3 separate regions of the Homo sapiens genome follow, and regions 1 and 3 are each linked to region 2. The links are contacts of gene promoters, found by promoter capture Hi-C in human tissues and cell types (Jung and others, 2019). All regions are on one chromosome and are shown on one strand. The core of a region is centred on a gene start or on the middle of the fragment in contact, and the rest is flanking DNA. Distances in the headings are between cores, read along the strand shown.

Evidence for each region. The method cuts DNA at HindIII sites, captures the fragments that hold promoters and counts their contacts. A contact is called where the count stands out against the background at its distance.
Region 1: a fragment that was not itself captured here is called in contact with the fragment with the promoter of TMEM132B in region 2 in 1 of the 25 tissues and cell types used here (mesendoderm cells).
Region 3: a contact is called between a fragment that was not itself captured here and the fragment with the promoter of TMEM132B in region 2, in 1 of the 25 tissues and cell types used here (mesendoderm cells).

Annotation. Positions count from the first base shown.
Region 1 is chr12:126,067,824-126,072,244 of GRCh38, reverse strand. No RefSeq gene overlaps it. Among named protein-coding and RNA genes, the nearest start is that of LINC02359, 26 kb to the left of the region's middle. The HindIII fragment of the contact is 4,397 bases long and covers 699-4,421 here.
Region 2 is chr12:125,184,591-125,188,577 of GRCh38, reverse strand. TMEM132B (transmembrane protein 132B) reads right to left here and starts at 2,192. Exons shown (of 9, transcript NM_001366854.1): 1 at 1,712-2,192. The coding sequence starts at 1,778. RefSeq lists a silencer at 2,200-2,409 and an enhancer at 2,458-2,991. The HindIII fragment of the contact is 11,061 bases long and covers 1-3,987 here.
Region 3 is chr12:125,786,770-125,790,960 of GRCh38, reverse strand. No RefSeq gene overlaps it. Among named protein-coding and RNA genes, the nearest start is that of LINC00939, 190 kb to the left of the region's middle. The HindIII fragment of the contact is 4,604 bases long and covers 1-3,758 here.

The sequences.
Region 1 (4,421 bases), core at 1,648-4,147, 880 kb before region 2:
TGAGATTTGAACAAGGCAGGCTGGCTGCAGGCTTTCATAATACATGTGAACTCAGTAAGTCACAGTAACCTAACCTAGCTAAAAGCAAGGTGAGTCAGAAAAGATTTCACAAGTAGCCAGGCGCGGTGGCTCATGCCTGTAATCCCAGCACTTTGGGAGGCTGAGGCGGGTGGATCACGAGGTCAGGAGTTCAAGACCAGCCTCGCCAAAATGGTGAAACCCCCATCTCTACTAAAAATACAAAAATTAGCTGAGCATGGTGGCACATGCCTGTAATCCCAGCTACTTGGGAGGCTGAGGCAGAGAATTGCTTAAATCCGGGAGGCAGAGGTTGCAGTAAGCTGAGATCACACCACTGCACTCCAGCCTAGGTGACAGAACAAGATTCCATCAAAAAAAAAGAAAAGAAAAAAGAAAAGACTTCAGAAGCAATGACTAACAAGGAATTTGAAGGATGACTGCATAAAACAGGCACATGTTAAGGGAAGCTTAGGAACTGTTTCAGTCACAGCAAATTGCAGATGTGAGGACCCTGAGGTGGATCTGAAATCTATGGGGCTGGGTCCCAGAGTGTGGGAAGAGGCATGTGAAATCTTCTCTTCTAAACCCACCCCCCAGCTGTCTGACCTATGTCAGTTAGTGACATCTCCATCCTTCTACCTGCTCAAGAAAAATATTTTGGTGTCTTCCTTGACATCTTTTTTTTGCCACCCATAATCAGTCCTTTATCTTCAATATTACAAGCAACTGAGACTTCTCACTCCAGTGCCTCTACCTGTCCAGCATACCTTCTCTTCTTGCTTGCAATTACCTAAATTACCTCCCTTTTCCCTTGCCCCCTCTCAGCCAGTGTGCTCCCCTGAAATAGCAAGTAAGAACAGGCCCTCCTGTGTGCAAACCCTCATAAGCTTCCAAGTCTGCTCAGCCAGTGTGCTCTCCTGAAATAGCAAGTGAGAACAGACCACCCTCTGTGCAACCCCTCATAAGCTCCCAAGTCTGCACAGTGACCCACAAGGCCCCACTTGGCCTGGCCCTCCATTATCCCACACTCAGACCCCATCTCTTATTAGAGTGACCTCACTGTGTTGGCCTCCACATGGTCCTGAAGCAGCCAGGCTGGCCCTCACCCTAAGCCCTTCCCTCTGCCTGGATGCTCTTCCTATATCACCCCAGCAATTGCAAATCACCCCTCAGTTCAGCATGTGGTGAGTGTGTGCAGAGCTGTTCTGGATAACCAGGTCAGGAGGGATGCACATGGTTGGGGACTAAAGTCCCTTGACTTGTGCTTCCTTAGCAGGACTCTAATCCCACCTCCTCACCAGCTCCCAGGCTGGCTCTTCTGTCCATGCCTCTTTACCTCTGGCCCTCAGCATCAGGCACCTGGATGCCAGTACTTCCTTCCCATCTGGTGTCCTAGCAGCCACCCTCCTTTCCTCCACAGTCAGGGAGAATTGTGTACACTGCCATGCTTTAACACTTTCACTGGCTCCACTTCTTACTGCGTCCCACAGGTTCTGCCTTATCTAGCCCCTGCCTGCATGCACTGCCTAATGTCTTGCTCTTTCTGTTCTTCAATCCAAAGCTCCACCAAACTCAGCTTGTGTCCCCAAGGCATAGGAGCCTTGTTACATGCTGGCCCCTCAGTTCGCAAAACATTTTCCAGCATATCCGCTGGGCTGTCTCTGGCTTCTCCTTCGAAAGTCAGCTTGATTGCCACTCCCTCTAGGAAAGCTCATGATATTTTCCCACTCCCCCAGCTCCTCTGCTGATGAGACTTGCATCATTCAGAGTCCCCACTTCTATATTAACTCTTGCTGTCTGTACTCAGACCAAAATCTGGACATGTTCAATGGAGCATGAGTTCCTTCAAGATGCCATCTTTATTTCTGAATCCCCCATGCCCTGTGTGATGACATTCAGAGATGAAGGAGGAACCCAGTCATTGCTTGTTGTGTGAATGGATGGATGAGTAGGTGTGTCTGTCTCACTCACTAGTCTATGATGCCCATGGGGTTAGGATCAGTTGACCACGTGTTACATAAATGAACTAAAGATGGCCCTTTTATTTTTGGCCTCTGGATTGTATACTTCTTCACAGTAGGCTGGGACCATTAGCTCAAAAGCCCACTGGCACTCAACTCAAATTTTTACACATCTAATTGTTCTAATCATAGCCCAAATAAGCAGACTTTTATCCACTTAGAGCCTGCCTGCTTTGGATATCTACCAAAAGTGTGCCCCCTATCTGCTAGCCATTGATAAAATAAACTCTTTTGCTGTAAAAGACCCCAAGCATCTTCTGCTCTTCAAAGCTCTCTAACCCAAACTTCCCACTGTGCTGCTGAGAAACATCACCTGGAAACATAAGCCCCATCTTCCCTAGAATTTCCCTTGACCTCTTCATCTTCTAGGTAGGGCTCCTGAACCATGGCCTCTGGATGGTCTCGTGCCATGAGGGACTTGCCCTGCTGGCAAATCTGTCAAAGCGAAGCCTGAACAAATTCATTGTGCGCTACTGCCACCTTGTGGCCATATGGTTTTCCTTGATCAACTCTGAAATCCCTGGAACTCACTACACCTTATTAGAGTGAATCTCATGTACCCCATAAATAAATATGCCCACTATGTACCCACGAAAATTAAACATTAAAATTAAAAAGGAAATATGTAATGTTCAGCAATGAAAACCTGTTACCATCATTGCGCATGAACCAACGGACATCTTTTCCTTATCCCATTGTATACAGCGGACACTCAATCAATGCTGTGGAATGAATGGATAGATGGATTTGTCTCTCTTTATTACTTTATGTTCTCTATTAAGCCAGGATCTGTTGTCCTCATTAAGGTGCTCCCAATGAAAATCTTCTGTCCTCTTCACCCTGGAACCCCAGGCCAATTTCTCACTGGGCAATGGTTTATTATGAATCCTTAATTGGTGCTTTCTTCATTGAACAATATGAAGAGAAAACCACCTGCATTCAAGTGATCTCTGGATTTTTATCAGGGGTAAAGATCCTGATAAACAGAGATAGAACACCATTACCTGAATCAGACCAATTCAAAACCTTAAACACAGATTAGGACACAGAGATAGAACATGATTACCTGAATCAAACCAGCTCAAAATCCTAAACACAGGTTCTTAGACCCCTGTATCTCTGGCTGTACTAGAGCCTCATGGCAGTGACAGGAAGCCAGAGCCTCCCAGGTCACAGAGTTAAGTCCCTTGCTTGATAAAGGATTTAACTGAAGCTCAGAGGGCTTATGTGATGCAATCTGAGGTCAAGAGTGGGCTAATCAGAAAGCTGGGGTTAGAACCCCACTCTGAGCTGCTTTCTCAGACATAATCTCATATTTCTACCATTTTTTATGTTTTTCAAACATATTTTGATGCTTGTGTATCATTTATTCAGACAACATTTAGGAAGTATAAAGTTTGTACTGTGCACAAGCATGCACCGTTAATAAAGCTAAATTTCCTACTGTCGTCTTCAAGTATCCAGCTGCCATTTGAGCATTACTTCAAGCATTTGTTTACATCAACTTGTTTATTATTTTCGGATTTGATACATACAAAATAAAGCATACCAGATGTCACAAGAAAGCTTCTTCAAAATCAATATGAGATTTATTTAGATTTCTTGTTTTTCCTGCTTTCCCTGTGAGCCAAATGACTGCCAATCATTCCCAAATTTCTATTATCAAAAATGGAAGCTTGCTTTCTAGAATTTGGAAAAATAAAGTAATATTTGCTTTATGCCCCTGACATGAATCACCCCTCTAATTAGAGGAGAGTTGGAATGACTGCACACAATAGCATATGCAGTGATGTGTAGGTACAGTGACCTATTAATGCTTGTGACAATGTTCCCAGGCTGGGCTGTTTCCTATTGTATAGGGAGGCACTTTGTAACTTTGCATTTGCTCAATGGGGCTTTGTAAGCTGAAATTGGGTTAGGTATTATCTACAGCCACAAATGAACAGAGGTATCAGTGAGTGTCTGAAGGCCCTGGACAGAGAGTAAAAATGAAGTTTTTCTGTGCTGTAGAGCCTGATGGTGTGACCAGCCTCCAAGATAAATACCAGTAGAACAGCTGCCAGCCACAGTCACAGGCTCGAATCAATGAAGACAGAAAAAATCATTTCAGATGCCACATCCCTGCTTTGCCCTGTTCCCAACTGTGGACCTGCATAAACTACAATACAAGAAAGATTCATTAAAAATAGAAAAGTCTCCATGTGATTCTAACTGGAGTCACTCACAAAACTTCATGCTCTATTCTCTCAAGAACATGCTTTGATCTAGGGGATCTGTGCCCTTGAAGAAGCCTTTTTGGCTAATGCTGCTTTTGGCTCTGATCCACGGAGTTAATGAGGGTGAAGTCCATTTTCCTCTCTATGGACATTTCAACATCAT
Region 2 (3,987 bases), core at 943-3,442:
TCTGTTGCTGGGGGAGAGGGCGGGGGACGGGGGTGGGGGGGTGGTAGGGGGACCATCCTATTCTCTTACAAAGCATTATGCAGGCAGCTTCTCTGAGAGACTTCCGATATTCACTTATAAGCACATCCAGGCAAATGCTGACCCCCGTGGAGAAACAAAATAGAGACAAAACTGCAATTTTCAAGTCCGAGGGACTGCACTTTTGCAAACAGGTCCCAGGGCTTCAGCTAAGAGAAAACAGCCTCGGCCCCAGCAGCAGCCCCTCTCGTGGACCGCAGAGGAATGCCGAAAGCAAAACAGCTATCATAGCTGCTCCTTAGCCAAGCAGGCAAGATTCATCCACGTTAAGCCCAATGCCATTCTCTAGGCTGAACCAAAGCCGAACGCTGACGGAGATCTCCAATAGAAGGTTTTCTTCAAGTCGAAGGTGTTGGTAAATATTTTGGGTCACTTAAGGGCATCTCAAAGGAAGCCGACACTGACTTTTTCCATGCAAATAAAATACATCGAACATCAAGTTGACATGCCAGGTTTGCTCCTAACTGCAACCTTACCAAGACAGTGAAAGCCGAAAAGTTATAGTTGTATTTTTCTACTGCATTCTGCCTGTCTGTGCGATTTGTTTGTTAAGGAAATGGGGAGAGATTTTCTAAAGCAAAAGCTACCTGTTCCCAAATCATGGGTCTTGATTTTAAAAGGTTTGGAGAACTGAGATTTCAAAAGCACATGAAGGCTGCTCGTGACTGTTCCCGGGGTTCATCTGAGCCTTTAGGATTTTCTCCACTGCTTGCATGGGGTGGGGGGAGGGGAGGAATTGTCATTTTAGGATACGCTTTCTATAGAACCAACATGTAGCCACACCAAGGTGGGTAGAAAGCTTTCCAAACTCCAGCGAAGACAGACAATACCTGACTATTTTGCTTTTCCCACTCACTAGGATTGGGCGACAGCTGAGCTGGTTCAGCAGGGAGTCCAGCTCCCCGGTGCCCAGGCAATGGCTCTGGACAGCACCGCGTTCCAGGCTCCCCGGCGCGTCCTGGACTGCTTGGCCGCGGCTACCCTCTCCCGCCCGCCTTGGGGTCAGGGCGCTGGAGTAGACCGCGTTTGCAGGAGGCGCGCAGCGGGCTGCTCTTTGGCCAAGAGGAGGCCATTTGGCGAGGGTGGGTAGCTTGGGGAGGGCAGTGTGAAAGCAGGGGAGGGCCGCGGGGCGTGGGGAGGGGCTGCGGACAAGCCAGACAGCGCCGGCCGAGACATCTCCGGGGCCCGCAGGTGTCCCGGGAACGCACCACTGTGCGACCGCGGGCAGCAAGACACTGGAGAAGGGCTGCGTCGACGCCCCCGCCCAGCAAAACCCCTGGAGGAACTGGGACCTGGGGGGGATTTGGCCCAAGGCAGGGCGGGGAGGGGGCTCGATTCCTGCAGTCGCGTCCCCACCCGCCTCGAGAGGCTGAGTGCCCCGGTCTGTGGCCCCCGTGCGTCCCGAAAGGATCCGCAAGGAAGCTAAGGGTTTGGGGGAGAAGGCAGGCGGGCTCTCCCCAGGCGCTAGGCAAAGGGGAACGCGCCGGGGGCTCCTGGGTTCCCAGGGTCTCCCCAGGTCTGTCCAAGTCCGGGAGATGCGCGCTGCCAGGGACTTGAGAAGGAGGTAGCCGCCCGTTCACCCAACTTTGTGCGCCTCGGCCGGGGTCGGGGATGGGGTCCGGGGACGCGTTACCTGGGCACTGGAGCGCAGTCAGCGCCAGCAGGAGCCCGAGCGGCGGCGCCCGGCCCGGGGGCGGCATGGTCCTCGGCGCGCGGTGGGTGCGGCGCGGGGCTGCTCCTCTCGCGCGCCCGGCCCGGCCCGCGGCTCCCGGAGCAGCCCCCGGCGGCTACGCCCGGGCGCCGGGCATGGCTCGCTCCCAGCGCGCCGCTCCTCCCCAGACGCATGCGCCGGCGCTGGCGGCGCTTCCTCGGCTGCGCCTCTGCGCGCTCTCCTGGGCTCGGCCGTGCGTGGCTGGGGAGCTGGGGCGGCCGAGGCTCAGCGCCCCGCGCCCTGGCCGGCTGCCCCGCAGTTGGCCCGAGTTGCGCGGCCCCCGCCGCCGCCGCCGCCGCGGCTCCTGCGCCCCAGCGCCCGTCCCATCCCGGTCGCGCCGCCGCCGCCGCCGCCGCCTCTGCCATCGCCATCTGCCGGCCGCCCCTCGAGCCAGCGAGAGAGTGAGCGAGCGAGCGAGCGCCGGGGGGAGGAGGAGGAGGAGGAGGAGTAGGAGGAGGAGGAGGAGGAGAGGAGCGGAGGGCGGGGCCGCGGCCGGGGGAGGGGCCGCCCGGGAGCCGGGGCACAGGCGGCAGCCCGGCCAGTAGGCGGCGGGACGCGCCACTGCTCGGCGGTTCGGGGGAGGGCGCCCGGCCGGGAGGCTCCGGGAGCCCGCCGGGGGTCGCGGGCGCTCGCGGGTACAGGGGCTGCGGGAGGGGTGCGCAATGCAGAGAGGGGATGCCCAGCTAGATCCGGCGTCTTGGGGCGCAGCGGTAGGAGTTGCCAAGGTCGAGGGGTGAGGAGGCCAGCGGAGGGTCACCGGGATGGGGCAGCGACCTCTGGAGAGGTGGTGTCTGCCGGGGCCAGAGACTGCAAGACTGAGCGCGGACAGGAGGTCCCGGGTTAAATGTGGCACAGCTAGGGAGTGCCTGTGGGAGAGGGGAGAGGAGAGAGGGGAGGGCCTCCGGGAGGCCGAGGCTGTGTGCAGAGCCTCTGCACGGCACCGGGATGGGGGCTAGGGGTGCGCAGGCTGGGTGCGGTGACCTGAAACACAGCGAAGGCGGCCTGGGGATGGCCACCCGGGTGAGGCAGGGTCCCTTATTTACCCAGGCTAGAGGATGCGCCTTCCCATTTCGCGCAGGCCCTAGGAGCACGCGGAGGCAGCCAGGAGTTCTCCTGGGAAGGGCAGATTCCCTGGCGGTCCCGGGAATGAGTTCCCAGCGCAGGGTCAGGCAGTGACGGAGCGGAGGTGTTGCGCAGGGCCGGGTACTAGGTGGTCGAATTCTTCCATCCAGGGGCAGGGACGCAGCCAGAGTGCGGAGGGAGGTCACAGGTCACACGGAGCCCCAGTACCTATTATCCCAGAAACCACTGATCCTCCTGGGCGCCCCACCCCCAACCAGGGCAAAGCCACGGGGGGCTAAGCCGAATGAATGAGTCATGCTGGGAGCATGTGGGGGAGCCTCCAGCAGCGCTCAGATGCCTTCAAGCTTCCCCACCACGCTGGGAGGACAGGGGATATGGGGGGTTGCCCACCTGGGAGGGTGGCTTGGAGTCCTGGCTCCGCCCCAGCCCCCACCACACCAGCCACTTGCTCTGCCATCTCAGTTTTCCATGAAAAAGTGGGTCAAACTCTTTGAAAATGGTCAATAAGGCAGCGTGGGGTGATGAAAAGACAGATTTGGGGAAGGCTCTGGAGTCATGGAGTCTTGGCTGAGAATCCCAGCTCTGCCGCTCCTTAGCTGTGCAAGCTGGGGCGAGTCCCTTATTCCTCCCTGAGCCTCAGTTTTCTCATCTGAGAGATGGAAGGCATTGCACATCACCTGGTGTCCCCAATAACACATACAAAGCCCCTGACCTAGGAAGTCGGAACTCATTTAAAGGAGTCAGTGTCAACATTATCATTCTCATCATCATGGCCATTATTATGATAGATCTGATTTTCCTCTGCGGGCCCAGAGCTCACATCAGAAGGACAATCCTCCCCACTCCCGGCTGCCAAGAGGGGATGGGGGACAGGGCACCTGCTTGATTAGTACAGACAAGCTCATTAGCAGAGGCAGCACTCAGTTCTTCCTAGATAAAAGAAGGAAGAAAGCCAGGGGCAGGTGGTGAGTCTCCAGCCCAGGTTAATTAGGAGACGTAAAGGGATTTTCCCGTGGCTGTTAATCGGCTTCCTTTACAAGGGGCCCATGCCCAGGCCAAGCCCCCTTTGGGCTCCCTGGCAAGGCCTGCAATGTGTGGAGAGCCATACAACAGGC
Region 3 (4,191 bases), core at 207-2,706, 600 kb before region 2:
GCAAAATGGAAATAGCCGGGTTCTCAGCAGCACCTGGAAGTTGTTACTGAAACACCAGGGGTTTGGTCTGAGTCCTACTGCTTACTGCACAGAAAGCAAATCACTGAGACGCCGAGTATTGCCAAGGAAGAAGGCTTTAATTGGTTGCTGCAGCTGAGGAGATGGGAGCTCAGTCTCAAATCCATATCTCTGACTGACTAAAACCAGGGCTTTACATAGCAGGCAAGAAATGTAACAATGTGTAAGAAAACAGGAACTTGGGAAGGGCAAGGAAGCCATCATGGTGAATGAGGGGTCCAGCATCTGGTGTGGTGATCTAGTTTCCCTTCTTTGATATTTTTTGTGAGAAGCATGAGGTCGTTTCCTGAGAAAGGAACTCAGATAAAACAAATATACGCTTCAAGCTTTAACAGCACAAGGGTCCATTTCTATGTTTATCCAAAAGCAACTCTCTATGGGACTCTTAAGGCTGGTTTCAGAAGGACTTCCACTAGCCAGATTTAAGGGGGACATAATTCTCTTGTGTCTGTCCATTGAGATTTGGGGATTTATTTGGTATTCTGGTTACTGCTATTCTATCGTATTCCCCTATAATCAGTCTTATAATATCCTTAAGATCATATAGTCTCGATGTGTTATTTGAAAATTATATTAATTACATAAATCAAAATTTTATAAACTTGCTATAAGTAAAATGTCCTCCCTGTTTAAGTCGGCTCCCTCCCCAGTGAACATTGTTCCTTCGCCCCCATATCTGCTAGCTGCCTTTGTCTATTGGGGCTTCTGCAACAAAGTGCAGTAGCCTGGGTGGCTTATTGACAACAGTTTATCTCTCACAGTTCTGCAGGCTAAAAAGTCCAAAGTGAAGGCTCTAAAGATTCAGTATCTGGTGAGGACCCGCTGCCTCCTCGTCTTCATGCAGTAGAAGGGATGAGGGAGCTCTCTGGGATCACTTTTTTAAGGATACTGTATTAGTCTGTTTTCACGCTGCTAATGAAGACATATCGTAGACTAGGTAATCTATAAAGGAAAGAGGTTTAATGGGTTCACAGATCCACATAGCTGGGGTGGCCTCACAATAATGGAGGAAGGTGAAGGAGGAGCAAAGTCACATCTTACATGGTGGCAGGCAAGAGAGCATGTGCAGGGGAACTCCCCTATATAAAACCATCAGATCTCATGAGACTTATTCACTATCATGAGAACAGCATGGGAAAGGCCTGCCCCCATGATTCAATTACCTCCCACTGGGCCCCTCCCATGACACATGAGGATTATTACAATTCAAGATAAAATTTGGTTGGGGACACAGCCAAACCATATCAGGCACTAATCCCATTAATGTGGGCTCCATCCTCATGATCTAATCACCTCCCAAAGGCCCCAGTTCCTCATACCATCACACTGGGTGTTAAGATTTCAACTTATGAATTAGGGAGGGGGACACAACATTCCATCTATAGCACTAGCTAAGGTTTTTGATCCCAAGGGTGGCATGTAAATCAAGCAAACCTATTCTTCTTTTATTAGTATTAAGTAAGGTGGCTTTGCATCCCCCAGACATGGAAGGTGTTAATTTTTTTTTTTTTTTTTTTTTTTTTTTTTTTTTTTTTTGGAGACAAGTTCTCCTTCTGTTACCCAGGCTGGAGGGCAGTGGTACGATCTCAGCTCACTGCAACCTCCGCCTCCCAGGTTCAAGAGATTCTCCTGCCTCAGCCTCCCGAGTAGCTGGAACTACAGGTGCCTGCCACCATGTCTGGCTAATTTTTTATATTTTAGTCGAGACAGGGTTTCACCGTATTGCCCAGGGTGGTCTCAAACTCCTGAGCTCAGGCAATCTGCCTGCCTCAGCCTCCCGAAGTTCTGGGATTACAGGTGTGCACCACCATGCCTGGCCCTAAGGTGTTAAAATTTGACCCTTTTTCTTATACATATACATCCACGGGTCCTCCCAAGACCCTCCTCTGGAGAAGCTGCTATATCTGCTGAATCTACCCAAGCAAAATTTCCTTGGTACAGACGAGTCCCATCTTTCCCGCTAGATGTTTCTGAGTCCTCATGACCCCTGAGCTTCTGTTCCATGCAGAATAGCACAGCCCCTTTCAGTATGGGGTTCCTTGCTGCAGCCCACTGCCATCTTTTAAAATATCCCCATACCAATATTTTGACTGTTGACTGTGTTGTAATATGTCTCCAAGATTCATAACACTTAGATCCACCCTCCAAGAGCAGCAGAGAATTTTTCCCCCTCTCTCCATCTCTGCTGCTATAGGCTCTTTGTGTTGTTATTCTTTAACTATTGTGTTAAAGTGTTGTTGTTGTTTAACTATTGTCAACTCTGAATGCAATTTAACAATACAACTTTGTAATTACCCATACAGAAAAACTGTGTTTCTCAGCAACAAATCGGGAAATTAAATTCACCAGCTCACCCAAAGCTAAAAATGCCCAAATACTTCCAACTTTCTTTTTCCTTTAGCACCATGCAGCTTATCAAAAATGTTACTCTGGGCCGGGCGTGGTGGCTCACACCTGTAATCCCAGCACTTTGGGAGGCCAAGCCAGGCGGATCACTAGGTCAGGCGATTGAGACCATCCTGGTTAACACAGTGAAACCCCGTCTCTACTAAAAATACAAAAAATTAGCCGGGTGAGGTGGCGGGTGCCTTTAGTCCCAGCTACTCGGGAGGCTGAGGCAGGAGAATGGCATGAACCCGGGAGGCAGAGCTTGCAGTGAGCCGAGATCACGCCACTGCACTCCAGCCTGGGCGACAGAGCGAGACTCCGTCTCAAAAAAAAAAAAAAGGAAAGGAAAAAAAAGAAATCATCACACAAATATCTAGAAACCAAGGATAACAATTTCCTCATATTTGTAAAATAAATTATAATGCAAGTTGATTAACTTTTTTAAAATAATCAGCTGGTCCTAGACGATCTTTAATTGATGGAATAAAAATTGTTCTCTAGTTGTTTAAGACAAGAGACATTCTTTGATGTCAGATATTCATCATCAAAATAGTAACAAATATAATAATGCATTAACCATATATTGTTTGACTGCCATCTATGTGCTGATGTATAGTTGGGATGGAGACAAGCAGTTGCCCTCAAACCCATCCTCCTCTTCTTTCAGTGAGTAATAGAATACCCACTTTTCACCAGCTTCTCAGGATCATGGCCACACTTTCCAGCACCCCTTGTAGGAAGATGTAGCAACGTTACTGTGCCCAGGCCAATGGAATCATGGGCCTTTTCCAAGGCACGATTCTGTTTCCCCTTATCTCCTTCCTGCTGGTTGTACTGGGATGTGTTGAACCACCTGGGACCAAGTGGATAACATCCCAGGAATGGCCAAGCAACAAAAGAGAAAGAGTCCGGGTCCCTTGTGACTTTGGATTAATGAGGCCACTTAGTTGATGATTAATGGCAGCTGCCAAACCAACTCAGTTTTACTGGAGAGGGAACAAACAGGTGTCCTAATTATTCCAATGGGTAATAGTGAAGAAAAAAAGTAATACTCTTCAGATCTCAAGGAGCTTAAAGTGTAATCATAACAGCTGCTTTTTACTTGAACCAGGCCCTCTGCCCTAGTGCTTCTCAGCATCATTCCATTCAATGCTTACAACAATCCAATGAGGTAGGTCTATTACTCCCATTTTTCAGAAGAGGAAACTGAGGCTTGGAGATGATCAATTATTTTCTCCAAGTCATGTGATAATGGTAAGTAGTGACCACAGCCCAAATCCAAGTTCCTCCACTCCAAAGTCCATGCTCTTATATAATACAGCTCCCCGATGCAAAGACTGCGGCAGATTGATCTCTCACAGGTCAGCTCAAATTGGTTCCCTAGAGAAGTGTGTTGGAAAGAATTCTTGGTCACAAATGAAAGCAGGCAGATGGGCCAGGAAGCGTGTGATCATTGACTAGACCAGCTGTATTCATTTCCTGGGGCTTCCATAAAAAGCACCACAAACTGGGTGGCTTAATACTACAGAAATGTATGTCTCACACTTCTGGAGTTTAGGAGTCTGCTATTAAGGCACAGGCAGGGCCACGTTCCCTCTGAAGTTTCCAGGGAAGGGTCTGTCCCAGGCCTATCTCCCAATTCTAGGTACTCCTTAGTTTGCAGCAGCATAACTCCAGCCTTCACCTGGCATTCTTCCTGCATACATGCCTGTCCCTGTGTCCAAA